Linked DNA regions of Homo sapiens: all the other regions are linked to region 1. Evidence: promoter capture Hi-C in human tissues and cell types (Jung and others, 2019). All regions are on one chromosome and are shown on one strand. The core of a region is centred on a gene start or on the middle of the fragment in contact, and the rest is flanking DNA. Distances in the headings are between cores, read along the strand shown. Region 1 holds the start of EIF2B5 (eukaryotic translation initiation factor 2B subunit epsilon). Region 2 holds the start of HTR3D (5-hydroxytryptamine receptor 3D). Region 3 overlaps HTR3C (5-hydroxytryptamine receptor 3C).

Region 1 (3,764 bases), core at 827-3,326:
GTCTTGTTTTATGGGTTAGGAAACATGGTTATTTCCTCTCCATACCTTGACCCCTTGTCCCTAAACATCAATTTGAACTCAAAATCCTGCTGAAGCCTAGGGTACACAAAGTAGCCTGGGAACACGCTTCACGTCAGCTTTCCCCTTCTGCAATCCATATAACATTTAGGAACTGTCTGATGGAGACCATGCTAATGTCCTAGTCTTTACATCCTGGACTTCCATAAGCAATGCGATTCCCTAGTTTTCAAGATTTCAACAAACATGTAAGTGCTCACTATATGCTTGGGACTGAGCTAGGCAGTGGGAATACAAAGATGACAAGGAGCTCATTTATATCCTTGAAGGTGAGAACAAACAAGATTTAGAAACTCAGTGGGAAAACAAAGATGTTATCATTGTAACTTCCATACTGAAGCCATTAAATAAAAGCAAAGTCCACTGGCACCAAACTTTATAATGAGATTCAGAAAAAACCCAAGTTTATTCTTTAATCTTTGTCACAGAAAACCCAAGACAGACAGATACAAAGTTTCAGCTGCTCACCTCCTGATAAGTGTAGAAAATACCCTTAGAACTTACAATGACATCTAAGTAGACACATTTTTCCCCTCTCACATTTCCCCTTAGTTACATTCATCCTGAAAAAACTGGAAAAAGATGGCGAAACATGGAAAGAAAAGTTGCAGGGCCTTACAGTAAATGTTCTTTGATTTGAGCAGCTTTCCAGCAACAAAAGACAAATGTTTCCTGTACACCTGTGGCAGTCAGGAATTCCAGAGTGTAGTCAATTAATGCCACATTGGCCAGGGGCAAGAGGACCTGAAGGATACAAGATGAAAAAAAACTTGAGGTCTCGAATCCCTTTGGGTACCCCACTGCAACAATTTTCACTCCTCTATTCGTATTTCCAAACAGTGTAATTTTGCTGTATCTTTCCAATTCAAAGATAAACAGGTTCCTGCCTTTGATGTTCATGCCATGCTCTAAGCCTGAGTCTGAGACATTGCAATTTGGGGATGGTAAGTACAGAATCTATGTGCCTTGTATCAGACACAGAGCTGTGACAGAATGGCAGTTCACTGCTGGCAAAGGATAATACTGGAAATCAATCATATTTCCATAAATTTAAGCATTGCTAAGGCCTTCTTCCCCATAAGATTTCCTTCCTTGATCCCTTTCTAAGTGTCAGAGGTTAGCCATCTCCCGTCACTTGTCAAAAATGAACAGCCATTAGGCTTTTTCGAGGGAATTAGAGAGGATTTTCCTTAAATCCAATGCAGTTCCCTCTTTCTGAACTGACTGCTGAACGACCCAGCTGAGTCCAATACCCCATTGTCTAGACAACTCGGGGGCTGATGGCAATCAACCACTAAACCCATTTTGTCCTTTCGACAGATAGCACCGGCTATCATTAGAACCTGGAAGGAAAAAAAAAATACACTGCCTGAGATCTAGCCCGCTCTTTTTAAGGCATATTACCGCCCTTTCAGAGGCAAAAGGTCGTTTCTTTTCACCTAAGCAACCGTCATCGGCAAGGTTAAAAGCGGCGCAGCCTCTTCTAGGGGCACTGAATCCCCGCGTGAAGGCTTCTCTCAAGCGCTGTTTCTACATTTAGCTCTCTTCATTCCTTTCAAACCCGAGGTGGACAGCATTACGAATGCCCAAATCTGCCGGCCACTAACTTGGTCAGCAGTCATCAGGGTTTAGACAGTCCCTCTGCATCCGGTTTTAGGATAACAGCATAGACGCAGGTCCTTCAAGGGCATGCTGTTGTAGTTAGCCGAAATGAGAACTTGCTCCAGCCCTGCCACCCTTCCTGCCCTCTGGCTGCTCGCGTGCGCGGCGCTCACCCGAGGCTGGTCCTTGGAGATGGGGAAGAAGCGGCGATCGAAGCTATCGGCCACCAGAACTGCTTGTAGGGGCGGCGGCGGTTCCTCCTCCGCCCCTCTGGCTCCCCCGCCACCGCTGCCTCCCGGCCCCGCGCCGCTGCGCTTGTTAGCCCGACTAACCACCACACCAGGCGGCGCCACTACAGGGGCCGCCATCTTCTTCTCTCACGGTCACCACTTCCGCAAGGAAGCTGCCACCGCACGCAGTAGGGGACAAAAAGGATCCAGCACTTGAAATGCGATGGACTAATTAACGAAGGGAAGGAGACGAGGAGGGAGCAGTGCGCATGCGTCTTCCCCGGGAGCCCACAGGGGTCTGAGGTTGATCCCGGAGGCGCGAGGAGTCGGTACGGGTCACGGTTGTCCCGGCCCCTGAGGCGCAGGGTAGGAGTGGGGTCCCATAGATGTCAGACTCGGTCTGCAAGTATCGTCGGCCTTCATTTGTAGGTGAACAAGCCGAGATTCTTGTGGCGTGATAGGACTTGTGGTCGCCACGAAGGGGCCAGCTCCATCGGGAATCTGTAATCGCCCAGCAGTTTCCCCGCCCCGCGCATGTGAAATATGTAGCCCTCCGTATTCATTCTAGAAACTTCTGGGAACCCAGCGCCTTGGGGAGATAGAACCGAGCCAGATGTTCCCCCGCTGCGAGGAACTCAGAACCTGCATAAATAGAGAAGGTGGCAGGCATATAGTAGGGAGACCAGTAATTCCATTGAGCGCTGATTTTGGGCCAGGCACGATACAAGCATTATCTCTGCAAAACATCTTATTCATTCGTTCAGCAAACGTTTCTTGAACTCTCAGAAGGATGAAGGAAGTTTACCCAGCTAGTAAGTGGAAGAACTGGTATTGGAACCCGATCTGTCTGACTGCAGAGTTCCACAATCTTGCTGCCAAGTTATGTGGGGATAACAATGACTATTTTATGTCATCTATTCATTCTTCCAGCCTATCAGCCTCCTGTGTCTTAAGCAGAGTGGAGACGGGGGTGGATCCAGGCGCACCAGTAAGTTGTACTGGAGTTAAGCAGTAAGCTTTCTGGGCAGAGGAAAGTGCGGGCGTAAAGGTCCAAGGCTTGAAAAGGCGCAGCAGCACCTTTTTCTCTTTGGGGAAAGAAGCGGTGGCTGCGGGGAATAAACCAACTCTGTAGAGGGGCGGGGCCGTGGGAAAGCGGTGGAACGGGGCAGGAAGGCTGGGCGTCATTTGGGAGGCAAGGAACTTTTCTGTAAGGCATAGCGCCCTTTCTGCACGGGACCTGTCCAGGTTCCACGCCACAGGCTTCTGCAGTTCCTGCAAACTGTTCCCATCCCGCCCCGCGTTGCACGTCGGGATTTGGAGTTCGCGATGCTGAGAGCTGTTTCCACGTGGCGATTCCGACTTGACCCGTCGTGCTCCGGCGCCCGCCTAGGGGGACCGAGGAGTTTGTCATTTCTTGCCTCGTTAGGGTGCGGAACGAAAACCATTTGATTTATCCTAGAAAAGGAAAGGCTGAAGCCAACTAAGTAAAAGTTTTCCATTAAATGAATGCACGTTGTAGAAAAGGAATGTTCAACTGCCCTACAAATCCAGAGGTAGAAATGGGGGAGGGGAGAAGGAATTAAATAGGACACACACACACACACACAAACACACACACACACACACTCTTGGGGGGGTGTTTGGGTATGGAAAGTAGGTCCGATTGCAGAATTTATTTTAAATGATTCCCGCAACCTTGGGAAGTTGGGAAGTGGTGAATCCGCTGCCGAAAGGCATTTGTGCTTATGGTAAATCCAGGTCTTAAAATTCTGTAGACTGGTAGCTATATGGATATGATTTTAATAGACGAGTTTCAGGAAGACTCTCTCAAACTGTTTTTTGTTGTTGTTGTTT
Region 2 (4,313 bases), core at 1,003-3,502, 100 kb after region 1:
AGGGTTCCAATTTCTCCACATTATCACCAACACTTGTTATTTTCTGGTTTTTTAATTTTGTTTTGTTTTGTTTTTTTGAGACAGAGTCTTGCTCTGTCACCCAGGCTAGAGTGCAGTGGCACAATCTTGGCTGTCTGCAACCTCTGCCTCCTGGGTTCAAGCAATTCTCCTGTCTCCTCCTCCCGACTAGCTGGGATTACAGGTGCCCACCAACACGCCCAGCTAATTTTTGTATTTTTAGTAGAGATGGGGTTTCACCAAGTTGGTCAGGCTGGTCTTGAACTCCTGACCTCACGTGATCTACCCGCCTCAGCCTCCCAAAGTGCTGAGATTACAGGCATGAGCCACCTCGCCCAGCTTCTGTTTGTTTTTTAATACTAGCCATCCTAGTGGGTGTGAGATATCTTACTGTAGCTTTGATCTGCATTTTCTTAACTATTAGTAACATTGAACATACACCTTTTCTTGTGCTTATTGGCTGTTTGTATTTCTTCTTTGCAGAAATGTCTATTCAAGTCCTTTGCCCATTTTTGAATTGGGTTGTTTGATTTTTTTGTTGTGAGTAACTAATTTTACAAAATCCAATCAAAGGGCCAGGCACGGTGGCTCATGCCTGTAATCCCAGAACTTTGGGAGACCAAGGCAGGTGGATCACCTGAGGTCAGGAATTTGAGACCAGCCTGGCCAACATGGTGAAACCCTGTCTCTACTAAAAATACAAAAATTAGCTGGGTGGGGCAGCACGTGCCGGAGGCTGAGGCAGGAGAATCGCTTGAAACTGGGAGGCAGAGGTTGCAGTGAGCTGAGATTGCACCACTGCACTCCAGCCTGGGTGACAAGAGCAAGACTCCATCTCAAAAAAAAAAAAAAAAAATCCAGTCAGAGGGTCCACTGCTCACCACTAGACCACTGCAATGTTGGGTGAGGACTTACAACTTCCAGATGGCAGACAAGGTGAAGGAGATGTTGACATGAGTGGCGACACTGTAGTTGGTGACTGGACCAATAGCCTTTCTGTCAAACACTGCTTGAAAGGCTGCAGGGTCCACCCTGTGCTGGCCAAAGCCTGGGCAATTGATAATCAAAGTGTCGCCATTTCCTGTAGTGAGCAGAGACTGAGAGAGGAGGGCCAGGGCTGGGGGGCCTGGAGAGTGTTTCTGCATGGAGAGAAAACAGGGGGCACTGGGAGAAGCATGTGAGCTCCTCCTTCCTGGTCCAGGAAGAGTAGGCTGAGCTGGTAGGCAAATGGTGGAAACTGATGAGGTGAGCTGAGTCAAGGATCCATCCTCAGTGCCATTGTTTTGTCCCCATGCAAAACCTGTCCAGATGTGTATGCAAACTCAACCCCGACCGCCACTTTACAGTGTCCTGCCATGTCCTTAACAATCTCACTGCAACCTCTCCACCTTCTGCCAGTGTCCTTCTCTTGCTTACCTCCAACCTGGAGCCATGTGGGTGATGTCAGTGACAAATTTTGCACTCACAGTTCTCCGCCTCGCTGTATTAATATGGCATAGATGCTAATAAATTAATGATAAGGGGAGTAATCAGATAGGTAGTGTGAGATATATGGGATCTTAAGGAAACAAATCAATTTCAGTTTTTCAATTTGATGAGTATTTACTGTGTCTTTACTATGTGCTGTGATTGTTCTAACATTTAGTAGTCTTCATCACTAGGATTATCTTAAAGAGTTCCCAGGCTGGGCTCAGGGGCTCACGCCTGTAATCCCAACACTTTGGGAGGCCCACGCGGGCAGATCACCTGAGGACAGGCATTCAAGACCAGCCTGGCCAACATGGTGAAACCCCATCTCTACTAAAAATACAAAAATTAGCCAGGCACGGTGGCAGGTGCCTGTAATCCCAGCTACTTGGGAGGCTGAGGCATGAGATCGTTTGAACCTGGGAGGTGAAGGTTGCAATGGGCTGAGATATTGCCACTGCACTCTAGCCTGGGTAACAGAGCGAGACTCCATCTCAAAAAAAAAAAAAAAAAGAAGAGAAAAGAGTTAACTAAATATTAGGATCCTAGGAAGAGGTACAAAGCCATCAGTGTCACGAGCATCATTTTTACCATAACGAACATCCAATCATTGACTATCTCAGAATAAAAAATATTAGCCTGTTTTCTCTGCTTCCCAGGAGTTACATGTCTGCTCAGCTCTTGCTCTTATCTTAAGGTACTTGCAGCAGCAGGTGGAGGATGAAGCCAAGGAGGAATCCTTTCCCATGGAACCAGCCTCTTTCCATCTTCCTCTCTTTGGCACTTCTCTGGGTACTTGATGATGATGTTAACCTTTAAAAAACCTCAGATCACACCTTGAGCCCTACCTTTGAATAATATATATATCAGCTGGCATTAACCGCCTCTCTAACAAGACCCCTTGGTGACAAAAGAATGTCACAGAGGAATAACTCACCCTGTGCTTTAACTGGGCCTGAATCTAGCCTCCAAAAGTAATATGGCAAATCAGTTTGGAGAAGAGGAAGCAAAAATATGTGGTCCCTGGAGCAGTGCTAATGGCTTCCTCATACTTTAAAGTCACTCTGGCGTACAGTGCCTCACCGAGAAGGCATGGATGACTACCACTGCCTCCAGGTGGCACGTGAACTTGTTAGACCCTGCTGTCATCTTTCTTTCTTTTCTTTTCCTTTCTTCTTTCTTTCTTTCTTTTCTCTTTCTTTTTCTTTCTTTCTCTTTCTTTCTCTTTCTCTTTTTCTTTCTTTTTTCTTTCTTTCCTTCTCTCTCTCTCTCTCTCTCTCTCCCTCCCTCCCTCTCTCTCTCTTTCTCCCTCCCTCCCTCCCTTCCTTTTTTTTTTTTGCGACGGAGTCTCCCTCTGTCTCCCAGGCTGGAGTGCAATGGTGCAGTCTTGGCTCACTGCAACCTCCGCCTCCCGGGTTCAATCGATTCTCCTGCCTCAGCCTCCCAAGTAGCTGTGATTACAGGCGCCTGCCACCATGCCTGGCTAAGTTTTTGTATTTTTAGTAGAGACGAGGTTTTACCATGTTGGTTGGCTGGCCTCAAACTCCTGACCTCAGGTGATCTGCCCACCTTGGCTCCCAAAGTGCTGGAATTACAAGCGTGAGCTACCATGCCCGGCCCCCTACTGCCATCTTTCAAAAAAGAAAGCGTGTTGGGGGGAGGGGGGTCCCTATTAATATAAGCAACTTCATACACTGAGGTTTTAAACATGACTTCAGTATAGTTAAGACTTTAAAGTATGAGGAAGCCATTAGCACTGCTCCAGTGATGACATATTTCTGCTTCCTCTTCTCAAAGCTGATTTGCTATGCCTTTTTAGTGTTTCAAAAGCAATCTGGACCCAGGTCTACCCAATGAAGGGAGTGATTAGTGGAGTAGGGGGTGGTGGCAGAGGTAATACTTTTTTAAAATAAAAGCTGACTTATGATTTTTTTTTTTAAATGGAGTTTCTCTCTTGCTGCCCAGGCTGGAGTGCAATGGCGCGATCTTGGCCCACCACAACCTCTGCCTCCCGGGTTCAAGCGATTATCCTGCCTCAGCCTCCCGAGTAGCTGGAATTACAGGCATGCACCACAAAGCCCAGATAATTTTTTTTTCATTTTTTTATTATACTTTAAGTTCTAGGGTACATGTGCACAACGTGCAGGTTTGTTACATATGTATACATGTGCCATGTTGGTGTGCTGCACCCATTAACTCGTCATTTACATTAGGTATATCTCCTATTGCTATCCCTCCCCGCTCCCCCCACCCCATGACAGGCCCCAGTGTGTAATGTTCCCCACCCTGTGTCCAAGTGTTCTCATTGTTCAATTCCCACCTATGAGTGGGAACATGCAGTGTTTGGTTTTCTGTCCTCGCTCGTTTTCTCAGAATGATGGTTTCCAGCTTCATCCATGTCCCTACAAAGGACATGAACTCATCCTTTTTTATGGCTGCATAGTATTCCATGATATATATGTGCCACATTTTCTTAATCCAGTCTATCATTGATGGACATTTGGGTTAGTTCCAAGTCTTTGCTATTGTGAATAATGCTGCAATAAACATACATGTGCATGTGTCTTTATAGCAGCATGATTTATAATCCTTTGGGTATATACCCAGTAATGGGATGGCTGACGCCCAGCTAATTTTTTTGTATTTTTTGTGTTTTGTTTTAGTAGAGATGGGGTTTCTCCATGTTGGTCAGGCTGGTCTCAAACTCCCAAACTTAGGTGATCTGCCTGCCTTGGCCTCCCAAAGTGCTGGGATTACATGCATGAGCCACCACGCCCAGCTGCTGACTTATGATTTTAAAGAAAAGGTCATGAGCTATTAGCCTGAAA
Region 3 (4,313 bases), core at 837-3,336, 74 kb after region 1:
AGCACAGAAAACCTAAAGTTGCATATGTATGAAAAAATCGCAAGATGACATCTAGAGAAATATAAACATGGAAATGGGGAAGGAAAAAGAAATGATACAAAACTGATCTTAAGAAATTTGAAATTCCTCAAAGGCTTAACAGATATTCTTCATTTTAAGTTATTGGGAAAAACCAATTGAGTTTCTGAGTGGGAGATATGTTCCAAGTAATGGAAAGGAGAAGGAAACAAGAGAATCTGATATCAGAACTGCCTTTGCCAGGATATAAGTAACATCTCCAAGAACTCAGAGATAGTTGACACATGAAGATGTGTTGCTAATTGTCCACATTCCATAAAGAAAAGAAAAGAAAATATATTGGGAAGGGATTTACAGCTAGAGCTAGTAAAATGTGGATTTTGGCTGGCTGGCATTCATTCACACATTTACTCATTCAACAATGCCGTATTCATTTCTCAAAAGAAGAAATATGCATGGCCAAGAAGCATATGAGAAAAAGCCCAATATCATTAATCATTAGGGAAATGCAAATCCAAACCACAATGATATACCATCTCACACCCGTCAGATTGGCTGTTATTTAAAAGTTGAAAAAATAACAGATGCTGGAGAGGTTGTGGAGGAAAGAGAACATGTATATGCTGCTGATGGGAATGTAAATTAGTTCAGCCACTGTGGAAAGCAGTGTGGAGATTTCTCAAAGAACTTAAAATAGAGCTACCATTTGACCCAGCAATTCTATTATAGATTATATACTCAAATGAATGTAAACCATTCTACCATAAAGACACATGCAAATGTATGTTCATTTTAGGACTATTCACAATAGCAGACATGGAATCAACCTAGAAGCACATCAGTGGTGGACTGGATAAAGAAAATATGGTTCATATGCACATGGAATACTACACAGCCATAAAAAAGGAGATAATGGCCTTTGCAGAAACATGGTTGGAGCTGGAGGCCTTATCTTAAGACAATTAACATAGGAACAGAAAACCTAGTACTGCTAGGTGCAGTGGCTCAGGCCTGTAATCCCAACACTTTGGGAGGCTGAGGCAGGTGGATCACTTGAGGTCAGGAGTTTGAGACCAGCCTGACCAACATGGAGAAACCACATCTCTACTAAAAATACAAAATTAGCTGGGCGTGGTGGCACATGCCTGTAATCCCAGCTACTTGGGAGGCTGAGGCAGGAGAATAGCTTGAGCCTGGGAGGCGAAATTTGCCATGAGCCAAGATCGCACCATTGCACCCCAGCCTGGGCAACAAGAGCAAAACTCCATCTCAACAACAACAAAAAAAACCCTAACCTGTCGGGTATTAAGCTGATTACCTGGATGACAATATTATCTGTACACCAAACCCCTGCGATATGTAATTTACCCAGGTAACAAACCTGCACATGTACCCCTTGAACCTAAAAGTTGGAAAGAAAAAAAACAAAAAAAAACCCCCAAGTCTGTGTTAAGTATCCACGATGTGCCAGATGTGGTACCATGTGCTAAACTATAAAAATGGATGAGACGTTGACCCTGATCTTTATGAAAGCATACTCTTAGGGGAGGCAGAAGGGCCAACAAATAAATCCCTGAAATGTGTTTATCCAATTGAAATATCATCCAGAAATTTGTCGCTGGTGTTTTTTGACTTTCTCTTTCAATTTCTGTTTCTCCTCAGGGTCTTTCTTGCAGCTAGCTATTAGAATTCTCCCATGATTATAGCTGTTGATGAAGGTGTGAACTACTATATTATTATTATTATTTTTGAGACAGAGTCTTGCTCTATCACCCAGGCTGGAGTGCAGTGGCACAATCTCGGCTCACTGCAACTTCTGCCTCCCAGGTTCAATCAATTCTTCTGCCTCGGCCTCCCGAGTAGCTGGGACTACGGGTGCACACCACCATGCCCAGCTAGCTTTTGTATTTTTAGTAGAGATGGGGTTTCACCATATTGGCCAGGCTGGTCTCGAACTCCTGACCTTGCAATCCATCCACCTTGGGCTCCCAAAGTGCTAAGATTACAGGTGTGAGCTACCGAGCCCTGCTGTGAACTACTATTAACAGGGAACTTAAAAAACCTTTCTTCGTTTCATTTTATTTTTAAGAGACTGGTTCTTGCTCTGTTGCCCAAGCTGGATTGCAAGGGTGCGATCGTGGCTCCCTGTAACTTTGAACTGGGTTCAAGCGATCCTCCTACCTTAGTCCCTCGAGTAGCTAGGACTACAGGCATGTACCACTGCACCTGGCTAATTTTTAATTAATTAATTAGTTAATTATTATTTTTGTAGAGACAAGGTCTCGCTTTGTTGCCCAGGCTGGTCTCAAACTCCTAGCCTCTCTCCTCGGCCTCCCAAAGTGCTGGGATTACAGGCATGAACCCCCCAGCCTCAAGCACACATATTTAGAAAGCCCGCTCTGTTTGATGTTGTGAAGTAAGAGAAACCTGTTAGAATAAAAAAGAATGACACAAGATATGATTTATTTCAAAGAGCAATTTCAGGAATGAGAGGTAAAGGAAAGTGAAAAAGAAATGGTTGCTGAAAGGAACATTTTGCATTTGTAAATATTTTATTGCAAATGAAATAATTTCTTGCAAATAAGACTTGGCCTTCTTATTCTTATAAAACTCTGAAAGTATCTAAAACCCTTAAAATCACATCAGATTACACCTGCTTAGGGGGAAGTATCAAAGCTTCTGCAAGAGGACTCTCCACCGCAGAGTTTGTAGACTTATAATAAATATAATGAAGAGGGCTGGGCGAGGTGGCTCACGCTTGTAATCCCAACACTTTGGGAGGCCGAGGTGGGCGGAACACTTAAGGTCAGGAGTTCCAGACCAGCCTGGCCAACATGGCAAAACCCTGTCTCTACTAAAAATACAAAAATTACCTGGGTGTGGTGGTGTGCACCTGTAATCCCAGCTACTTGGGAAGCTGAGGCATGAGAATCATGCCTGGGAGGCGGAGGTTGCAGTGAGCTGAGATGGCATCATTTGCACTCTAGTGTGGGTGACAGAGTGAGACTCTGTCTCAATAAACAAACAAACAAACAAACAAACAAACAAACTGAAGAGCCAGTGCTTCCTGGAAAGTTGTTTATTGGGGTGATCAATCAAGGAGAGACTCCACTGACCTGGACTTCCATTGATCAGGGAGTGAGGAGTTAGGTGGTAGCTCAGGGAGACTGAGGGTGAGCAGGAATGAGCAGCCTGAGCAGCGGTCGGGAAATCGTCCAGGGCTGTCCCGAACCTGCTTGCTAGTGCTGCGTTGGAGTCTTTGGAATTTAGAAGGGGACATGGTAGTCACTGGGGATAAGTGGCTAAGATTAGGAAAATGAGTCCGGCTGGCCCAAGACCAGCAGAAACTCCAAGCTGTTGTTTGCCAGAGAGGGGGGATGTCTGCCTAGGTGTTCCAGAGGACAATGACAGTAAGGATGGAGGAGGCCATGAAGAGCAGGTAGAGGCGGAAGAGCAGGGTGTCCATCGCGTGGCTGAACTGCACCCACAGCTCCATTAGCTGGGTCTTTGTCCATCCTGAGCCCCCATCTGGCTCGGTCTCTCTGGGTCCCAGCTTCTTCCCTGCTAACTCCCCCGGCTCCTTTGGGCCTGTGGAGAGGACAGAGGCTCAGTCATGGAGTGGGAAGGGGACAGGATTAGAGGAGTGCTGGGCCCAGTGTGAAGGGCGAGTATGGACAGTGCTGGCTTCCCTCACCAGGCAGGTGGGTGAGGGTGAGACCCAGGCCCTTATTTCCCTTCTGGGGCGCAGTGGGACAGCATCTCCCTGGGCTGGTGCAGTGGAGCAGCAGGGAGTGAAGCCACCTAGGCATGGGTGGGGGCTGGGTGGTGGCCACGTGCAGCAGGTAGGTAATGAAGACGGTCTCCAGCAGGCTGACCACCATCAGGGACAGGCACAGGGCGAAGTAGACACCTGAGGGCAGAGCAAATTATAAATAAACCAGGCAAATTTATCTCTAAGCATTCCTCACGCCTCTTTCCTAAATCCAATCTTCTTTCACAGCCCCTTCCTTCCTTCAGTGGAGCAGCGGCCATTTCTCCTGGCCCTCCTCCCTGGCCCCGGGTGCCCTTTCTCCTCCTGAAAGTGGGAGGAGCCATACTGATGAGGGGGGTGCCACTGGCAGGGAGCAAGTCATTCATCATGAGCAGGAAGACGTTGTAGCCCAGCAGAAGTGTTATCTTGAATGGGGCACGATTCTCGCTCTCTGCTGGCAGGTAGAAGCTGAGGGCATCAATGGCAACCAGAAAGCTACTGGGCACCAGCAGGTTTATGATGTAGAGGCTTGGCCTGCGCCTGA

The links. Contacts are between HindIII fragments. The study calls those that stand out against the background at their distance.
Region 2: a contact is called between the fragment with the promoter of HTR3D here and the fragment with the promoter of EIF2B5 in region 1, in 2 of the 25 tissues and cell types used here (IMR-90 fibroblasts and neural progenitor cells).
Region 3: a fragment that was not itself captured here is called in contact with the fragment with the promoter of EIF2B5 in region 1 in 5 of the 25 tissues and cell types used here (H1 embryonic stem cells, IMR-90 fibroblasts, bladder and 2 more).

The regions. Positions count from the first base shown.
Region 1 is chr3:184,133,670-184,137,433 of GRCh38, reverse strand. EIF2B5 (eukaryotic translation initiation factor 2B subunit epsilon) reads right to left here and starts at 2,076. Exons shown (of 16, transcript NM_003907.3): 1 at 1,854-2,076; 2 at 698-822. The coding sequence starts at 2,048. EIF2B5-DT (EIF2B5 divergent transcript) reads left to right here and starts at 2,173. Exons shown (of 2, transcript NR_183721.1): 1 at 2,173-2,898; 2 at 3,156-3,764. RefSeq lists enhancers at 1,727-1,796, 2,117-2,176, 3,046-3,687 and a silencer at 1,867-1,976. The HindIII fragment of the contact is 14,690 bases long and covers 1-3,764 here.
Region 2 is chr3:184,029,681-184,033,993 of GRCh38, reverse strand. It overlaps HTR3D (5-hydroxytryptamine receptor 3D), which reads right to left and starts at 2,252. Exons shown (of 8, transcript NM_001145143.1): 1 at 2,187-2,252. The coding sequence starts at 2,252. The HindIII fragment of the contact is 22,402 bases long and covers 1-4,313 here.
Region 3 is chr3:184,059,443-184,063,755 of GRCh38, reverse strand. HTR3C (5-hydroxytryptamine receptor 3C) reads right to left here. Exons shown (of 9, transcript NM_130770.3): 7 at 4,116-4,313; 8 at 3,713-3,928; 9 at 3,083-3,606. The coding sequence ends at 3,404. Among named protein-coding and RNA genes, the nearest start is that of HTR3C, 8.6 kb to the right of the region's middle. The HindIII fragment of the contact is 8,084 bases long and covers 1-4,313 here.